Linked DNA regions of Homo sapiens: region 2 is linked to region 1. Evidence: promoter capture Hi-C in 16 types of primary human blood cells and fetal thymus (Javierre and others, 2016). All regions are on one chromosome and are shown on one strand. The core of a region is centred on a gene start or on the middle of the fragment in contact, and the rest is flanking DNA. Distances in the headings are between cores, read along the strand shown. Region 1 holds the start of SLC25A2 (solute carrier family 25 member 2). Region 2 overlaps PCDHA1 (protocadherin alpha 1).

Evidence for each region. The method cuts DNA at HindIII sites, captures the fragments that hold promoters and counts their contacts. A CHiCAGO score of 5 or more calls a contact.
Region 2: a fragment that was not itself captured here is called in contact with the fragment with the promoter of SLC25A2 in region 1 in 1 of 17 cell types (M1 macrophages); the score reaches 7.3 in M1 macrophages.

What each region holds. Positions count from the first base shown.
Region 1 is chr5:141,299,483-141,306,815 of GRCh38, reverse strand. It overlaps SLC25A2 (solute carrier family 25 member 2), which reads left to right and starts at 2,767. Exons shown (of 1, transcript NM_031947.4): 1 at 2,767-4,181. The coding sequence starts at 2,951. The coding sequence ends at 3,856. RefSeq lists a silencer at 5,838-6,132. The HindIII fragment of the contact is 3,271 bases long and covers 2,280-5,550 here.
Region 2 is chr5:140,889,478-140,896,810 of GRCh38, reverse strand. The region is part of intron 1 of PCDHA1 (protocadherin alpha 1); the gene reads right to left. All of the region lies in intron 1 of PCDHA2 (protocadherin alpha 2), which reads right to left. All of the region lies in intron 1 of PCDHA3 (protocadherin alpha 3), which reads right to left. All of the region lies in intron 1 of PCDHA4 (protocadherin alpha 4), which reads right to left. It also overlaps PCDHA5, PCDHA6, PCDHA7, PCDHA8, PCDHA9 and PCDHA10, and 4 more genes. Among named protein-coding and RNA genes, the nearest start is that of PCDHA13, 11 kb to the right of the region's middle. The HindIII fragment of the contact is 1,307 bases long and covers 3,104-4,410 here.

The DNA.
Region 1 (7,333 bases), core at 1,518-4,017:
TTATCCAATCAACTATTGATGAACACTTACATTGATTCTGTGACTTTCCTGTTGTGAATAGTGCTTCCATAAACATATGAGTGTAGATGTTTTCTGGTTTTTTTTTTGGAGACAGGGTCTTGTTTTGCCACCCAGGCTGGATCATAACTCACTGCAGCCTCCAACTCAGCTCAGTCAATCCTCCCATCTCCGCCTCCTGTGTAGCTGCCACTACAGGGGCATGCCATCATGCATGGCTACTTTTTGTATTTTTTTGTAGAGATGGCATTTTGCCATGTTGTCCAGGCTGGTCTGGAGCTCCTGGGCTCAAGCGATCTACCTGGCTTGGGCTCCCAAAATTCTGGGATTACAGGTGTAAGTCACTGTCCCCAGCACAGGTGTCTTTTTGATAAAATGATTTCTTTTCCTTTGGGTAGATACCTAATAGTGGGATTGCTGGGTTGAATGGGTGTTCTATTTTTAGTTCTTTGAGAAATCTCCATACTGCTTTCCATAGGGGTTGAACTATTTTACATTCCCACCAACAGTGTACAAACGACAAATTTCTACTTCTGCATGAGGCTGTGTGGGTCCTCAAAGAGAATCTCAAAACTTAGAAAGCATAGTGCTGAGCCACCCAGCTCTTTTCTATCAAGTTTCTTAGCAATGCAGTATATAAATACTATCCATTTTCCAAGTTGATTTTATAGTGCCGTGTTCTATCTTCAGAAATGATAAGGACTCCACGTTCCACCAGTTCCCAGGGCTGCAACCCCAGATCCTTGGGGATGTTGCCATGTGATAGCATTTCTCCAGCTCTGCAGGAAAGCAGTAGCACATCTCCAGGGCTAAGGATTCCCACAGTGCCCTACTCCCCTCCTTGCCCCCCAGGAAAGTGAGGAGCGTGGGCAGATCGCTGAGGGTTTTCTGATCAAAAGCAGTCACTGTCTCTCATGTAGCAACCCTCAGATCGTTTCGTTACCGGACAGGGGTCCCGATCCAGACCCAAGAGATTGTTCTTGGATCTCATGCAAGAAATAATTTGGGGCAAGTTCATAGAGTCAAGTGAAAGCAAGTTTATTAGAGAAGTAAAGAAGCAAAAGAATGGCTACTCCATAGGCACAGCAGTGGCCTGGGCGGCTTGACTAAGGATACTTACAGTTTTTTATTGAATGTAAGCTAAACAAGGGGTGGATTATTCATGAGGTTTCTGGGAAAGGGGTCCAAAGTTACCGGAACTGAGGATTCCTCCCCCTTTTTAGACCACATAGGGTCACTTCTTATTGTTGCCATGGCATCTGTAAGTGGACACGGCGCTGGTGGGCGTGTCTTTTAGCATGCTAATGCATTATAATTGGCGTATAATGAGCAGTAAGGACGACCAGAGGTCACTTATTATGCCATCTTGATTCTGGTGGGATTTGGCTGGCTTCTTTACTGAAACCTGTTTTATCAGCAAGGTCTTTGTGACCCGTATCTTGTGCCGGCCTCCTATCTCATCCTGTGACTTAGAATGCCTGTCTTCCTGGGAATGCAGTCCAGTAGGTCTCGGCCTTATTTTACTCAGTCCCTAGTCAAGATGGAGTTGCTGTGGTTCCAGCGCCTCTGACAGTTTGTCTTCTCTACTTTATTTTTTGTAGGGGGTAAGGGGTGTCTCATTTTGCTGCCCAAGCTAGCCTTGAACTCCTAGGCTCAAATGAGCCTCCCTCCGCAGCCTCTCCAAGTGTTGGGATTACAGGCATGAGCCACCACACCTGGCCTGTCTTATCTACTTTAAAGCAGTTTTCTTGTAGATTGACCCTCTGAATTCAGGGTCTATTCAAGTGAGGGCATCTTCTTTTCGGGTTGTTTGTTTTTGTTTTTTGCATGGTAAGAAGCGTGGGATAGGCCGGGTGTGGTGGTTCATGCTTGTAAGCCCCAACACTTTGGGAGGCCAGTGGGTGGATTGCTTGAGTTCAGGAGTTCGAGACTAGCCTGGGCAACATGGCGAAACCCCGTCTGTACAATACAAAATTTAGCCAGATGTGGTGGCTTGCGCCTGTAGTCCCTCTAGTCTCAGCTACTCAGGAGGCTGAGGTGAGAGGATCGCCTGAGGCCAGGAGATTGGGGCTGCAGTGAGCCAGGATCGCGCCACTGAACTCCAGCTTAGGCGGCCGAGTGAGACCCTAAGTCAAAAAAAAAAAAAAGAGAGAAAAGAAAAGAAGCAGGGCTGACTGATTAGGACAGCATTTCTTTTGCCGCCAGCTGAACTGCGGCGTCTAGAGTTCCCGGCCATAATTGCAAGAATTTATCGAAAAGCTTTACATGTTTTCTTGGTTTTGGTTTTGTTTTGAGACAGAGCCTCACCCTTTCGCCCACCCTGGAGTGCAGTGTGCGATCATAGCTCACTGCAGCATCGACCTCCCGGGTTCAAGCGATCCTCGCTTCATTCTCCTGAATTGCTGGGACCACAGGCGCGCGCCATCGCGCCCGGGTATTTTTTCGTTTTTGTAGAAATGGAGTCTTGCCATATTGCCCAGGCTGGTCTCGATCTCCTGGGCTCAAGCGATCCTCCCGCCTCGGCCTCCCAAAGTGCTGGGATACAGGAGTGAGCCACCGCGCCCAGTCGCAGTACACTAAAAGTATTTATTCGGTCCGCGTCCCCCGCCTGCGGGTGCAGGGATGGCGGCTCCAGGCTGGAGGCGGCTGGGGGCCCGGCCAGTGCGCCAGGAGCCGCAGGAACGCTAGTGAGCCGCGCGCTGGGCCGGCAGCTGGGGGTTATTTTAGTGCGCGGGGAGGGGGCGGCCCGCGGCGGAGCGTAGGGTTGAGCGGCTTCCCCCGCACTGGGGTGAGAGCCCAGAACAGGCGGTAGAGCCACCCCACCACCCCCAACTCCATTCCCCGCGCTCGCTGCGGCTGGACGTGAAAAGCCGGTCTCACGCTCTGGGGAGTTAGTCGCCTTCCACTGGGACCCTCAGACGAGTGAGCGAACATGAAGTCCGGTCCTGGCATCCAAGCCGCCATCGACCTCACAGCGGGGGCCGCAGGGGGGACAGCGTGTGTACTGACTGGGCAGCCCTTCGACACAATAAAAGTGAAGATGCAGACGTTCCCTGACCTGTACAAGGGCCTCACCGACTGCTTCCTGAAGACATACGCTCAAGTGGGTCTCCGGGGCTTCTACAAGGGCACCGGCCCGGCACTTATGGCCTACGTCGCCGAAAACTCGGTCCTCTTCATGTGCTACGGGTTCTGCCAGCAGTTTGTCAGGAAAGTGGCTGGAATGGACAAGCAGGCAAAGCTGAGTGATCTCCAGACTGCAGCCGCGGGGTCCTTCGCCTCTGCATTTGCTGCACTGGCTCTCTGCCCCACTGAGCTTGTGAAGTGCCGGCTACAGACCATGTATGAAATGGAGATGTCAGGGAAGATAGCAAAAAGCCATAATACAATTTGGTCTGTCGTGAAGGGTATCCTTAAAAAGGATGGCCCCTTGGGCTTCTACCATGGACTCTCGAGTACTCTACTTCAAGAAGTACCGGGTTATTTCTTTTTCTTTGGTGGCTATGAACTGAGCCGATCGTTTTTTGCGTCAGGGAGATCAAAAGATGAACTAGGCCCTGTCCATTTGATGTTAAGTGGTGGAGTTGCTGGAATTTGCCTGTGGCTTGTCGTGTTCCCAGTGGATTGTATTAAATCCAGAATTCAAGTTCTTTCCATGTATGGGAAACAGGCAGGATTTATTGGTACCCTCTTAAGTGTTGTGAGAAATGAAGGAATAGTAGCCTTATATTCTGGACTGAAAGCTACTATGATTCGAGCAATCCCTGCCAATGGGGCACTGTTTGTGGCCTACGAATACAGCAGGAAGATGATGATGAAACAGTTGGAAGCATACTGAAGTGTCTTGGTGAACCTGGATCCGAGTCCATGAGTTTGAGGACTACAGTTCATCACAGGGTTCAGCAGAGTACAAGACCACTGTCTAATTTTGACTTCATGGGAATTTTGGTTTTATCTTCCCTTCTTCTACCCTAAATCTTAACTTTATGGAAGGGCCTCTATTTTACATCATATAATTTCTGCCCATAATTGTATTGAAATAGGAAAGTTGCTGCTCTTGCACTTGCTGGAATGTACAGGGTGGGCTGGTTGGCCCTATGTACCTAATCTGAAAAACTAAATATCGTTCTGTCAGGGCCTTTGCATAAAGCCATTTGTGTGTACATGCAGTTTGGATGATTCTATGTCGTGAGTGAAACAATTTAGTTCTATATATAATCTCAAATATCAGCCCCCCAAACCCAGAATTGACCATATTTTGTGAAGATAGGTATGAATGATTACTTAGGATCACTCTCTCTTTTTTTCTTTTTTTTTGGAGACAGAGTCTCACTCTGTCGCCCAGGCTGGAGTGCTGTGGCATGATCTTGGCTCACTGCAACCTCTGCCTGCCTGGTTCAAGCGATTCTCCTGCCTCAGCCTCCCGAGTTGCTGGGATTACAGGTGCCCGCCACCATGCCCAGCTAATTTTTGTATTTTTAGTAGGGATGGGGTTTCACCATGTTAGCCAGGCTGGTCTCGAACTCCTGACCTCAGGTGATCCACCCAGCTCAGCCTCCCAAAGTGATGGGATTATAGGCATGAGACACCGCACCCGGCCAGGATCTCTTTTAAAGTCTGCTTAACATGCGCACTACATTAGGCGGTTCAAGTTTTGAAACATCTTCATGTGGTGCTTGATACCAAAATACTCCTCTCTCTCTCTCTCTCTCATATATATATATATATGAGAAAAAGTATATATATATATATACTTTTTTTTTTTGAGATGCAGTCTCACTCTTGTTGCCCAGGCTGGAGTGCAGTGGCACGATCTTGGCTCACTGCAACCTCCGCCTCCTGGGTTCAAGTGATTCTTCTACCTCAGCCTCCCAAGTAGCTGGGACTACAGGTGCACGCCACCACACCCGGCTAACTTTTGTGTTTTTAGTAGAGATGGGGCTTTGCCATGTTGGCCAGGCTCGTCATGAACTCCTAACCTCAGGTGATCCACCCGCCTAGGCCTCCCAAAGTTCTGGGATCACAGGTGTGAGCCGCTGCGCCTGGCCTCATCTATATTTTTAAGAGGAGAAGGTACCTGCATACCAGTGTGGCTTTGACATTCTTGAGTTAAAAGTTTCAGAGTAAGCATTGTGGATTTTCCCAAGAAACAATACCCTTAATATAGTGTTATCCATTTTCAAAGTGGGATTATATTCTGCACTCTGCCTATATGGTTAGGGATGATCTAGAGTATCATCAGGCCTTGGGGAATCCACACAGCCTTCCTGCGCCAGCTTCCGTTCTCCCCCTCAAACGAGCTGGGCTTTAGTTCGAGGAAGGAGCTGTGCACCTCTGCTTTGATGAAGACCCATGTGGCTGATAACAGTTCTTAGCTTCCAGTCTCTGGGTCCTGGCCTGGGTAGGACTCAAGGGTGTTCTATCGGCCCATTTAGAGGTTGTTGATTCATTTTGGGTCACTCACTGTCCTTTCTGCCTCCATCAGCCAGAAACCTTCCTGGGGAACAGAAAGTGACAAAGCTAAGAGAAGCTTTTGTTCCCTATTTGCTAATAATACTTGTGGGTAAAAGTCATCTACTCTCAGATAGAACTAGACAGAACTTAGTGCTTTTGCTCCACAATGAGTCATGTTAGGGACAACCCTTTCTTGAAGTTTACCTTGGGGTCCATAATACCTTCCCATGCCTTTACAGTGCTAGAGTCTTCTAAATTTGGTACTGTTCATCAGTAAATTTTAATGATAACTACGTATGGGGTGTGACTAAGGAATGAAACAGAAGAAAAGTAATTTTATTGAACTATATACCATATGTATGTATATGTACACTGTCAAAACCCCTCCAAAACAAAGAAAAACCCCCAACCCCAAAACGTAGTTCATTTATCTGATCCCCACAGACTTGGAGATAAGCAACTGTTCTTTGGCCATGTCATTCTTGTCACCACTAAAGTAAGCCCCATCATTCTGTGTTGCTCCAAGACCACCAGCAGGGTCTCTTTCAGTATCAAGTTTTCTTAAGCAGCCTCTAAAGCTGAAAAGAAGCAGGCTACCAGTCTTAATAATAGTCTGTACCATGTGGGTTTATTATTTGACAGAATGTAATTCCTGTGGGAAACTTTGTTTCCTTAAGCTTTTTGCTATCTATGAAATCTCTGTGGTAACTCTAGCCTTAGTGTCAGAAGCAAGATGGTCAGGGAAATGAGATACTGACCAGTAAGGGTTGCTGCGGACATTTAGGGGAGGGGAGGCTCAGTGTCAGGCCTGGTGTGCCCCAGAGCTATGGCTGATCTTCCATTTATTTACTTTTACTTTAAAAGAAAATCATGTTTATACTTTAAAGTTATTTATAGATTTAAGTTATATATTCCATACTTAAATGGTCAGTAGCTATGGAGTGGTGCTTCATCGGAGCAGGCCTGTATTAAATATAAAACGGGACTGGCGTTTAACAGGAAGTGGATCATTTCAGAGTCCACCGTCCCGCTGCCTGGCACCCATGAGGTAGTCTAAGTTAGCTTTGTTGTCAGCATACCTTCTTACGTGTCATTCATTAAAGATTTAACTCAATACCTTCAAAAAAATAGTATGAGGCAAGTAAGGATAGTGGGAGTGAGGAATAGAAATCTAAGTCAGGAGAATTTTTTTCCTGTCCTATTTGCTTAATTCAGTGTTCAATATTTGGGTACAACTTGTATCATTTCAGATCTCTAAGCAAAAATATAGTAATTTGAAATACTGTGTTTAAAGACATTTGAGGGTTCTATCGCCAAATTATTTATCTACATAATACTTATTTAACTCACACCATTTACAATGTATTGTATTGAACTGTGGCTATTCAGACACTAATGGTATCTGGTTTCTGACTTCAAGGATCTGACAGTCTAGATGTTTGTTCTACAGTTAGAAGAGTGATATTTTAGAATAAAATTTAGAAGAAAAAGGTGGAATCCAAATTTTATATTGTGTGTGTGTAATCAGTGATGGAATCTCTGAATTTAATGAACAGTCCCCTTCTCTTTGTTTTTGTTTGTTTGTTTGTTTTTTGAGATGGAGTCTCGCTCTGTCGCCCAGAGTGCAGTGGCACGATCTCAGCTCACTGCAACCTCTACCTCCTGGGCTCAAGCAATTCTCCTGCCTTAGCCTCCCTAGTAGCTGGGATTACAGGCCTGTGCCACCGCACCTGGCTAATTTTTGTATTTTTAGTAGAGATGGCGGTTTCACCATGTTGGCCAGGCTGGTCTCGAACTCCTGACCTCAAGTGATTCACCCACCTCGGCCTCCCAAAGTGCTGGGATTGTCCCCTTCTCTTAA
Region 2 (7,333 bases), core at 2,508-5,007, 410 kb after region 1:
ACAGACAACCTACAGGATGGGAGAAAATATCAGCAAACTATGCATCCAACAAAGGTCTAATATCCAGAATCTATAAGGAACTTAAACAAATTAACAAGCAAAAAACAAACAACCTCATCAAAAAATGGGCAAAGGGCCGGGCACAGTGACTCATGCCTGTAATACTAGCACTTTGGGAGGCCAAGGCAGGTGGATCACTTAAGACCAGGAGTTCGAGACCAGCCTGGCCAACACGTCAAAACCCCATCTCTACTTAAAATACAAAAAAAAAAAAGAAAAATAGCTGGGCTTTGTGGTGTGTGCCTGCACAGTCCCAGCTACTCAGGAGGCTGAGGCAGGAGAACCGCTTGAACCCAGGAGGTGGAGGTTGCAGTCACACCAGTCAGAATGGCTATTACTAAAAAGTCAAAAATAACAGATGCTGGTGAGGTTGCAGAGAAAAGGGAATGCTTATACACTGCTGGCGGGAATATAAATTAGTTTAGCCACTGTGGAAAGCAGTTTGAAGATTTCTCAAAGAACTTACCATTCAAGCCAGCAAATCCCATAACTGTGTACATAACCAAAGGAATATAAGTCATTCTACTATAAAGACACATGTATGTGTATGTTCATCATGGCACTATTCACAATAGCAAAGACAGAGAATAATCCTAAATGCCCATCAATGGTGCACTGGATAAATAAAATGCAGTACATTGGCCAGGCACAGTGGCTCACGCCTGTAATCCCAGCATGTTGGGAGGCCGAGGCAGGCGGATCACCTGAGGTCAGGAGTTCGAGACCAGCCTGGCCAACATGGAGAAACCCTGTCTCTACTTAAAATACAAAAATTAGCTAGGCCTGGTGACAGGCACCTGTAATCCCAGCTACTCGGGAGGCTGAGGCAGGATAATTGTTGAGCCCGGGACGCGGAGGTTGCAGTGAGCCGAGATCGCGCCATTGCACTCCAGCCTGGGGTACAAGAGTGAGACTTTGTCTGAAAAAAATACAATACAATACAATACAGTATTGTACATATACGTCATTGAATACTATGCAGCCATAAAGAAAGAAAAAGATCATGCCCTTTGCAGCCCATTGAATGGAGGTGCAGGCCATTATCCCAAGTGAATTAATATAGAAACAGAAAACCAAATACTACATGTTCTCACTTATAAGTGGGAGCTAAAAAAGAATGTGAAAAGACAACACCCTCAATGAGAAAATCTTTGCAAATTATATATCTAATAAAGTAATTGCATCTAGAATATATAAAGAACTCTTACAACTCAACAATTGAAAAACGAATAAACCAATTAAAAATTGGGCAAAAGTTCTGAATAGGTATTTCTCCGAAGAGGATAAAGAAATGACCAATAAGCACATGAAAAGAGTCTCAGGAGGAAGCAAAAGAAGGTTATGGGGCTTTTGATGGTGTTGAGAATTGAAGAACTCCAAAAAGTGCCAATAAGTACTCACTGGAAAGCATAGTAAAACAATTTGAGAACAATAGTCATGGGTGGAAGGGGGGAAATCGAAGGTCCTAATTCAATTATCCCTGAGTAAGAAAAAAAAGAAAGCTTTGAAAAGAGAGATGAGAAAACTCAGTAAAATATTAGAAATAAAAGCAAATTCAAAACTTAGCAGAAGGGACTACAAATAGATTGGATTGTGCTAAACCTGTCTTAGCCCTATGAACTTGTCAACTAACAAATGTCTTCTTGTAGCAAAAACCCCTATACTGAGGAGGAACTGATAGGAATTGAGTCCATATGAAGCAGAATGGTGTGGGTGGGGGACAATTAAACAAAGGAAAAAGGTCCAAGTAAAAAGGGTAAAGGATGTCACAAAGTAAGACATTAAAAAATTATATTTTTATCATTTCATGACAATAGCTGAATAGAAATCTATAGAGCAACAAAGATAGGAAAATTATCCTGGTCTGTTTCTTCTAAAATTATGGGGGAGCACTTTTCATATAAAAATGAGCATAAGAAAAGGATTATGGGCAAATCTGATATAAAATTATTTTTAAAGGAGAGGACAAATAATTACACTAAAGGAAATAAATACACACAAGAAAAAAAATTCCACAAATTGCTACGTAATATTTGAAAACAACTTAAACATTTTTAGAAAATAATGAAAAGCTATGCAAGAATACACAAATCAGAATTAGAGAGACTCAGTAATGATATGATTGGAGAAGAAAAGCTTTGAAAAGAGAGATGAGAAAACTCAGTAAAATATTAAAAAAAAGGAAAATAATTTTTTCAGAAGTAAACACTAAACCAGAAGGCACATAACAGCATATAAACACTATGGATAATGCCTAAAGAAAACTATAAGATGAAAACAAGAATAAAAAGTAAAATATTTTTTAAAAAAGAGCTAGGTAGGATTTAGGAGTGTTAGCTACAAAAGAAAAGCAAAGAATATCTAATACAAATATAATTGGAGCCATTGAAGAAGAAATCTGAAGTAATAAAACAGAAGAAATACTAAAATCTATAATTTAAGAAAACTTTCCAGGAAAATAAACTTCAAAAATACTTGTAAATAAGCTACCACTTGTAAAGAAAAGAAAATTACATTGTCATTCAACATCTTTAAAATGAGAATATAATAGCATAGAAAAAATATATAACTATGGAAAGAAAGTCAAAATCAGGGATAATTACATAGAAGGGAATTATTTCAAGTTATTTGAAACTTCTCATCTGCAACACCAGGAGCTAGAAGATACTGGAATAAAATAAATGTATTTAAAAATCAATTCAACAGAGGACTTACATTACCAGTATGCAGAACTGGTAATTTGAACCAACCATACAATTGGAGATATTTTAAAATTATAAAAGTATCTAATGACTAATAAAGTCATGCAGAATTAACAGGTAGAGATTCTGAAAAAGACCACAAATTCAGAAGGTAAAGTAACTTTCTGGCCACTTTGGATCTGGGTTGTTTCTATACAAGAGGTAGGGCATCAGGATGGCTGAGTAGTCTACGGTACCAGACTCAAGACAAGGAGGGAATTCTAAAAACGGTAAAAGAAAAGTGACAAGTCACCTATAAGAAAATTCCCATCAGACTAACAGCAGATTTCTCAGCAGAAGCTTTACAGGCTAGGATAGAATGAGATGATATATCCAAAGTGCTGAAATTTTTTAAAACTATCAGCCAAAAATACTATACCAAGCAGAGCTATACTTCAGAAATGAAGGAGAAATAAAGTATTTCCCAAACAAGCAAAAACTGAGGAAGTACACTACAACTAGATAAGTCCTACAAGAAATACTTAAAGGAGTTCTACAACTGCTTTTTTTTTCTTTTTTGTGAAGAACAGGGTCTTGCTATGTTGCCCAGGCTGGTCTTGAACTCCTGGCTTCAAGCGATCTTCCTGCCTCTGCCTCCCTAAGTGCTGGGATTACAGGCATGAGCCACTGTCCCATAAATGCTGTTGGTGGGCATGTAAATTAGCACTGCCACTAAGGAAAACAGTATGGGAGTCCCTCAAAAAACTACAAATAGAACTACCATATCATCCAGCAATTCCACTATTGGGCATTTATCCAAAGAAAAGGAAACCAGTATGTCAAAGTGATACCTGCACCTCCCATACTTACTGCAGCACTATTCACAATAGCTACTATGTGGAATCAACCTCAATATCCATCAACAGATGAGTGGATAAAGAAAATGTGGTGTATATGCACAACGGAATATTATCCAGCCATAAAAAAGAATGAAATCCTGTTATTCATGGCAGTATGGCTGAGCCTGGAGGGCATATGTTAAGTGAAATAAGTCAGGCACAGAAAAATAAATACATGTTCTCACTTATACGGCAGCTACAAAATTTTATTGAGCTCATGGAAGTAGTATTGTGCTTATCAGAGGCTGGGAAGGGTGAAGGAAAAGGAGGATGGGGAAAGGTTGGTTAATGGATACGAAATTATAGCTACACAGGAGGAATGGGTTGTGGTGTTTTGCAGCACTGTAGCACTGTAGGATAAATATGGTTAACTATAATTTCTTACATATTTTCAAGAAGCTAGAAGAGTGGATTTTAAATGTTCACCATGCAAAAATGGTAAATGTTTGAGATTATGAATATGCTAATTACCCTGATTTTATTATTATACATTGTATATATGTATCAAAATGTCACTCTGTATCCTATAAATATGTACAATTATTATGTACCAACTGGAAATAAAAGGAAAAAAATAGGTGAATGAATACTGAGATATACTTTTGACAGTCTCCAAGGACTAGAGAAACAAAAGTCAGAATCCTGAGTCTACCAGTCATGGTGGAACTTCTTAAACAATCTCTCATGTTTGGCTAGGAAACTGAATAACCGTACTTAAAGAATACATGTAAATTTTAGATAATGAGGTTTTATCTAGAATACCTGAAGCTTGAAATAGATTAAGATTACCCATGATTGCTAGTGCCCCAAGATGCCTGGCAAAAGTCAATTAAAATCCATTCTGGAGAAAGAAAATGTTATAAGCCCCAAATTATTTCCAGGAAGAAGTGTTTAATACAACTTTCAGCACAAAATCAAAGATAACCAGGTTTATGTGGAGACAAAACACCATAAAGATACAATTTTAAAACACACCACAGGAATAGACCCATGAGGATCCCAGTTACTGGACATATCAGAAATAGACGCTAAAACCATGAGCTTATTGTGTTCCAGATATAAATGCCAAGCTTGAAAGTTTCGAGAGGAAACTAGAAATTATACAAAGTAACAATAAATTTGAAAAAGAATAAATAAAAGTATCTTAGACCATTTGTGCTGCTATAACAGAATGCCACAGACTGAGTAATTTATGAGAACGGAAATTTACTTCTCACAATTCTGGAGCCTAGGGGAAGTCCAAGATCAAGGCACCAGCATCTGGTGAAGATCTTCTTGCTGCATCGTCACATGACAGAGCCAAAAGCATAAGAGAGGGACAGGCTCCTTCCATCAAGTCCTTTTACAGTGCCGTTAATTTATTCATGAGGGCAGATCCCTCATAATCTAAACATTTCCTGAAATTCCCCACCTCCCAACACTGTTGTATAAGGGATTGAATTTTCAACACATGAATTTGGGGGTACAAATTCAGACAACAGCAAGAAGAGAGAATTATTAAACTTTAAGGTGGGTGAACTATCCACAATAAAGCCCAAAGAGCAAAAGGTGTTAAAATAAAAGGTAGAAATAGATGGGATAGAGTAATAAGATTAAAATATGTTTAATTAGAGTACTAAAATAATACTATAGAAATACAATGGAACAGAAGCAACATTGGAGAACATTATAGCTGAGGATATGCTCAAAGTGATGTAAAGGCATTAATTCACAAATTCAAAAATCCTATACAATGGACGTTGGGGACTTGGGGGCAAGAGTGGGGGGTGGCGAGGGATAAAAGATTGCAAATATGGTGCAATGTATACTGCTCAGGTGATGGATGCACCAAAATCTCACAAATCACCACCAAAGAACTTACTCATGTAATCAAATACCACCTGTACCCCCAATAACTTACGGAAAAATTAAAAATTAAAAAAAATCCTACTGAATCCAGAACAGGATGATTATAAAGACACAGCATGGTAAAACTGCAAAATATCAGACACACAGAAAATCTGAAAAGCAGCCAAAGGAAAATAAACAGAATACCTTTAAAGGAATGACATTTAGATTGACAGCTAAATTCTTGACAGCAACAATGGAAACCAGTAGACACTGGAATAATATTTACTATGTGCTGTGGGGGTCACACCTAAGATTATACCCTCAGAAAAAATGCTTTTCAATAATTATGATGAAATAAAGACATTTTCAGAAAAACAAAACCTGAAATCATTCCTCACCAGCATCTTTGGACTAAAGGAAACTCTCAAATTATTCTAACATGGAAAGACAATAATCCCTGATGAAAGGTCAGAGGGGCAAGAAGTAAGGAAGAGAAACAAAACTGGTAAATATGTAAGTACATTTAAAACAATGTTGATTGTATAAAATAATACTAATATCTTATGGGGTTTTAAAATATTTTTAAAGCATGACAGAAATAGTATATAAGTCAAAAGGGATTAAAAAGATTTTAAAAATGTAAGGTCCCTGCATTTCCCAGAAGGAGGAAGGGTTTCAGTTAACTTTTGATTTTGATATATCAAGGATACATGCTTAATTTTCTAGGGTAAGCACTAGCTATTCGGAAAAGGGCTTCCAAATAATACAGAAGGAAATGGAACAATAAAAAGTACTCAGTCATTTCAAAAGAAGATCAACAAAGGAAGGAAATAGAGACATAAAAATGGTGAGACAAAAATAACGCACAAAAAATTGAAATATTTGTGCCTAAAGATATCACTAGGTATTGTAAATATAAACTAAATAAATATTCAAGTTAAAATTTATAGATTATCTAAGAAAGAGTACTTGTTCAGGTTATCCATTGCTATATAGTAAACCATCCCAACTACCTAATATCTTAAAACAACTTAATATTACCTCTCCTGGTTCTGACTCAACTGAGTGGTTCTTGCTTGCAATCAGGTGCAGTAGTGTACTGGTAAATGCTTAACAACTAGGTCTCTGGGAAAAAAGAAAAACAAAAAACTCTGTTTTGTAGCATTTGCCTATTTCTGTGGCAGAAATACTCCTACCATGGCCAATTTCAAGCTACCAAAGTGACATCATTGAATCCAGAGTTGGGAATAAATTTGCATTATCAGTTCTCATAAGCCAGTAAAAGAGCCAGCTCCAACACACTACAGTCACCTGAAGCCTTCTACATTTTTCTGGCACCTAAGCTTGGAAAGCTAAGACAACTGGAGACTGGATAGTAATTTTTCTATCCATTTGGCTTCTCACAAGTCCAGCTTGAGCTTCTTTACAGTATGACAATCTCAAGGTAGTCAGAATTCTTACATGGTGGCAGGCTTCCCCCAAAACAAATATTCTCAGAGACCAAAGCATACTGTAAGACTTCTTATGACCTGACTTCATAAATCCCAGAATGTTACTTCCAATATTAAGACCAGTCAAAGTTCAAGGAAAGAAAAATTAGACTCTGCTACTCAGTGAGACAGTAGCAAAGAACTTGTGGAATATGCCCATAATACTAAAAGGTTTAAAATAAAAGGCTGGGAAGAGGACATCTCCTGCAAACACAAATGAAAAGAAGAGAAATGAATCAGTATAATTAATATAAAAATATTTCAAAGCAAAAACAAAAATCAGAAAGCAGAATTCTGAAGAAAAGTAAATTAGACAGGAAGCAAAAATAATATCAAGAATGGAAAGGGAAATATCACTATAGATTCTGTAGAA